Regions from separate parts of the Homo sapiens genome. Here region 2 is linked to region 1. Evidence: promoter capture Hi-C in human tissues and cell types (Jung and others, 2019). All regions are on one chromosome and are shown on one strand. Each heading gives the region's core, a stretch centred on a gene start or on the middle of the fragment in contact. The rest is flanking DNA. Distances are from core to core; before and after follow the strand shown. Region 1 holds the start of TRDMT1 (tRNA aspartic acid methyltransferase 1). Region 2 overlaps MINDY3 (MINDY lysine 48 deubiquitinase 3).

What was found. Contacts are between HindIII fragments. The study calls those that stand out against the background at their distance.
Region 2: a contact is called between a fragment that was not itself captured here and the fragment with the promoter of TRDMT1 in region 1, in 1 of the 25 tissues and cell types used here (lymphoblastoid cells).

What each region holds. Positions count from the first base shown.
Region 1 is chr10:17,200,406-17,203,105 of GRCh38, forward strand. It overlaps TRDMT1 (tRNA aspartic acid methyltransferase 1), which reads right to left and starts at 1,267. Exons shown (of 11, transcript NM_004412.7): 1 at 1,166-1,267. The coding sequence starts at 1,229. RefSeq lists a silencer at 905-964. The HindIII fragment of the contact is 10,509 bases long and covers 1-2,700 here.
Region 2 is chr10:15,790,742-15,793,441 of GRCh38, forward strand. The region is part of intron 11 of MINDY3 (MINDY lysine 48 deubiquitinase 3); the gene reads right to left. The region is part of intron 1 of LOC124902383 (a long non-coding RNA gene); the gene reads left to right. Among named protein-coding and RNA genes, the nearest start is that of MINDY3, 68 kb to the right of the region's middle. The HindIII fragment of the contact is 3,404 bases long and covers 1-2,700 here.

The sequences.
Region 1 (2,700 bases), core at 17-2,516:
CGGCAAACAAGTACTAAAAACTTAATGATCATTAACCTAGTCTAGAATTGAAACTCAATAAATCTGCTCAAAAAACTTATACGCTAAACCCATTAAATATTGTCTGTATCTTACAGTTACTCTTGTTACTCTTGGTCCTAAATAAGGAAGCAGGGAAGTTTCAGTTCGGTGGTTGTCTTAGTAATTTAAGAATAAACATGCACCTTCAAAGCCTGTTTGTCATTCTGTATCCCCAGCTCCTAGCACAAAATCTGGCACAGAATAGGAGCTCAATAAATAATTTTGAGTGAATATCACCAAAAGTAAAACTTTCAGTTCCAACTCAGCATGAAAGAAATCAAAAACCTCAAAATCAAAGACGTGCATAAAAGTAATAGTTTGCTTGATAATATCTCGTGATGTCGTTTTAAAGTAATAGTGATAATAATGTATAATATTTGGAGTGGTTACAATGTATCAGGCACTAACAAGCACTTGACAGACTTTAATCCTTATAATAATCATTCTCTTTTAAAACCAGGAAACAGGTTCATCACTGTTCACGAAGTAGCCCAACGTCACACTGCCACCAAGCTGGAACTCAGTTCTCTGGCATCTAAACGCAGAACTACAGAAGACACGTTTCTTTCCAACGATCAGACGTCCAAGTTCTTCAAGCTTCCTCTACCATCCTATTTAGCATTCGCAAACTTCTACCTTGAATTGTAGCTATTATCCCTTCCAAGATCCATCTCTCACCAGGGGAGCCCCTGACACTCCCTCCCTCCCCAGCTGGGAAGCCCCCCAGGATGAAGGACCGAGTCTCCATGCTTCTCGGTGGCTGCACACTTAGAATGGGGGCTTGGCACCAGGCGAGGGTCTCGCCCCTTTGATACCCTTTGAGGTTGATTTACTGCCTTGCGAATCCCGACTCCCAACTGGGCCCTTTGAGGCGCCATGTGCGGCCCCTCGAGCCAGACTCGGCGCCAGGAGAAGGGAGTCAGCGTCTGGAGGGGTGGACACGGCGGCGCGCAGGAGCTGTTTCCAGGACAACCGAGGGCCGCCCCACAGTGTCCGCCCCACAGTGTCCGCCCCTTGCGTCTCGCCGCTCCGCCCCTTCCCGGCGCGGGTGCTCCAACCAGCCCCCGTGAGCGAATAGAGAGAGGGGTGCTAGATGGACTCTCACCTCTCAGCGCGTGGTGCATGCCGCCCACGCCGCTGTATAGCTCCAGCACCCGCAGGGGCTCCATCCCCGCGCCTCAGCCGCCGCAGCCCCGGAGCTAGGCCTGCCGGTCCGTCGCTCCTCCTCCCTCCATCGCGCCGCTCCCTCAGCCTCTGGTTCCGCGGCGTTTCAGTTCCCCCGTCTCCTACCGCTCCAGGCTCAGGGCTTCAGAGGGCCTCGCGGCCTGGGGATTGGCAAGGGTCTAGAGGGGAACAAAGGACGGAAAACAATAAGGCTTCCCGAATGAATGGCAGCCACTCTGTAGCCTGATTTACGCTCCATTTCCTTCTTTGGTGTCAGGGGCCTTGATTGGAAAAGAAATCCAGAGTTCAGTAAAGGGGAGAAAACTGCCTTGGTTTCCAAGTGAATTAACACTGGTTAGAAGCCAGAAAAAAATCATTTTTCAGACAAGCTGCTTTTCTGTCACTTAGAAGCCTGAACATTCAAACATTCTTTCCACAGTGTGCCTTGTTTCCTGCCTGCCCTGGGTCAATAGAGAGAAATTAGACCAGCCTCTCCCCTAGAGAAGATTCCAGAATTATAAGTAAGGACACAAGTCCACTCGCAGCAGAGAAAGCCCTGTGTGCGTGCTGATAATACAGAGGATGTTTGTTGTGTCTATTAGTGGGGTTAATTATGTTTTAGCTTGGAAATTACACCTACATAGAATACACAGTGAATATCATGTAGGATTATTTATGGGTCTTTAAGTGCTATGGCCTTGATTCCTCAGGATGATCCAGTAACCAACTGTTAGAGGCTCATGTTGACGAAAAAAGCCAAACTCCGTAAAATGTTTGAAGAGGTTTATTCTGAGCACAAGGTGAGGACCGTGACCCATGACACAACCCCACAGGGTCCTGACAACATGTACCCAAGGTGGTTGGGCTACAGCTTGGGATTATATGGTTTTAGGGAGACATAAGGACATTAACTGGTATATGGAAGGTGTACTTAGTTTGGTCCATAAAGATGGGACAACTCAAAAAGGGGAAGGATTCCAGGTTACAGGTGGATTCAAAGATTTTCTGATTGGCAGTTGGTTGAAAGAGTTAAGTTGTGACCTAAAGACCTGGAATCAATAGAAAGGAATGTGTCTGGGTTAAGATAAGGTGGAGACCAAGGTTCTTATTATGTAGACGAAGTCTCATACGTAACAGGCTTCAGAGAGAATAATTGGCAAATGTCTCTTATCATGTGTAAAAAGATGCCAGACTCTTAGTTAAATATCTCTTGGATCAGGAAAAGACCTGGAAAGGGAAAGGGAGTCTCTATAGAATGTAGATTTTCCCCACAAGAGATGGCTGTGTAGGGCCATTTCAAAAAGTGTCAAAGAAATTTATTTTAGGGTAAAATGCTTTGATTTAGGGCCTGCTATCTTTCATGTGATGCTATACTAGAGTCATGTTGGAATTTTGGTATCTTATTGCTAAGAAGAGTCTGTTATGTCGGTATGAAGATCTCTTGTTTTAATAATAATACTGGTCAGTTGTGCCTGA
Region 2 (2,700 bases), core at 5-2,504, 1.4 Mb before region 1:
ATAATGGCTGAACATCCCTGATCTGGTCCAAAATCTGAAATGCTCCACGGTGTCATATTGGCACTCAAAATTTTGGAGGATCAACCTTTCGGGTGAGGGATGCTCAGTCTGTACACCGTTTTTCAGGAGCACTGACAGCATGTACTTTGTCATGGCTGGCAGCCTTTCCGCAGAAACCATAACCTGCAACTCAGTTCCCACCCCAACCAAGAGCTAATTGGCAAATGACAACAAAAACAACAATGTGACCTTCTTAACAACATGCTTATATATGATTAACCTCAAGCTTAAACATTTTTAAGGTAGCTATGAGATTTACAACTCATAAGCACAGATATTCTGAAGTGTAACCATAACTGTACCCGGTCAGTAACTCTACATTTTGTACATTTAGTATTTTAAAACTAAAGATGTAATAGAATTTTCTCAATAATTCAAAACTTTTAATATACTCAAGATTAGAAGAGATTTCAAAATTATTTTCCTTTGTAGAAGACTTACTTTGACATGTTAACCATACCTACAAAAAATTCCTTAGAAAAAGGCCAGAATCATTAAGTGTAAAAACAGATGAAACCTAGGTCATCTGACATTTCACCAACTGACTCCCTAGAGAATAAGGAAACAGAGGCACAAAGATGAAAAGACAACCTCAAAGTCAACAGCAAAGGAAATCTCAGAGAATACCATTTGATTAGTCAAGCAGATCTATGAAGAACTAAAAGAAAAAAATAGAACTTGCATACACTGGTAAATTAACTACATAGATATCAACACAAAAGAATGGGGACTATGAGGCAGGGCAAGCAAAAGAGGGCAGAGCAGCCAGGATGGGAAACGGCTAGCATGTACATACTGTAATGCTGTTGGATTGTGGCTGAAAGGAGGAAAAAAGCTGTTGGTTTAAAATTTTAAAAGATTTTTACCAGTTGAATATCCAGATTGCTAAAAGTGTCAAGTCCTTAGAGATTGTGGGGAGGAATAACTCAATGCAAAGGAGCGCTGATGAAGGACAGTGAAAGTGAGGCATGTAATTTCCTGGATAAGATAACTATTTCATAACTGGGAGGAAACCTGAGTTGGGCTTTCAAAGGAAATATAAAACAATCAGGATTTCTGTCCTGAAAGATTAAGAAATAAACAGGAGAGCCTAGCAGGTCTCAATTTTAACAGAGATACTAGCTAAACTGGACACTGCAGGAAGAGAAGCCAAATGTTGGATACTCAAAACTAACAGAGAAGCTGGAAAAAGGTTTCTCAGAGTTGTGCAACAAACAGCTTATAAGGAAACTGTGAAGCCCACTGTACTTGAGACTAACATTTTCCATACACTGTGGGAGAGGGAGACTACAGTTTCTTGGGAATTAAAAAAAAAATAGAATTTAATAAAGCCTTAGTATTTATTAAATTGTAGGTCTATATTCCTATTGAAAAAGCAAGTGACCTTTTCCCCAAGGCCAAGTCACACACCAGAGCTGAGCTTTTCCAGACCTCTTTGGCATTACTTCTGGCTCCCCAGTGGGCAATGAGTTCTGGAGGGCAGGGAGTCCAGATCCCCAGGGCCTAGCACAGTGGTTGACTCATAGCTGCTCGTTAACATTTGTTACTTTTAATGATACAAGCTCATAAATAAGTAGCTCATTTATAGCTTGTACTGCAAATTCACTTTTATTATGGGATGGAAAAGGTACAAAATATGGTGGCACTATACAGAAAACTGTTAGCTGGGGATGCCTGACAGAAACAGTGCTAACAGTGACGGGAGGCCACAGCAAGGGCACAGGGAGGAGCATTTATTTAAAAGGAACAGAAAAGACAAGGCAATTCTAGAGAATGCCTAGGGAGTGGTGTATATTAAGCTCTACCTACAATAGTCCAATTATTCTTAAAGATTAAAAAAATGCAGTACACTGAAATCAGACAAAATATGGCTGTCAACATATTTTAGCAACTTAACAAAACAAACAGCTTCAGATTTAAAAGAAATGGTGTTGCTTCCTGACATATAATTGTACAAGGGGGAGGGGATAAAGGAGAAAGAAGAAAACAAAATTCATTATGTATAATGTGAAAACCTGTGATTAGCAGTTCAGACACTACCTATGTAGACCTTGATGTCTTTGGAGGTTATGGAATAAGCTCTGTGCCACACATTTTTTAAAAAAACAACACCATGGTTAATGTATTGAGTGCTGACTAATCATATAAAGTTACTCTTAAGTCCATTTTACAGATGAAAAACTGAGGTAGGAACTCGTCCAACATCACACAGCTAGTGAGGCGTAACGGATGGAGCCATTTTCCTGGTATCCAGAGGCACTAGAGAATTGTTGTTGTCCAGTATCTTTGATCATATTAATATATCTTTATCAATCATTTTACAATAATTCCTATAAAACATGTACCTGAATACGAAGCACATATCCAAACATTTTCTTCCACAAAAAAGACACACAAAAATAAACACTGTGGACTTTCTCCAAAGCTCATGTGGAACACTTTGAATAGACCTGATAACTGCTTCTCTTTAAGCTGAGTAAGTGTGCTAGTCTCCCCTTTCTGAATCTGAGATTAAACTGAGCCAATTATCTAGAGGTGATACATCAAGGTCCCACAGAAAGTACAATTTTGTTACTATTCAAATGAGAAATTAACAGTTAAAAACTATATTTTTGACCTTGTTTTATAAGTATGCTTGAT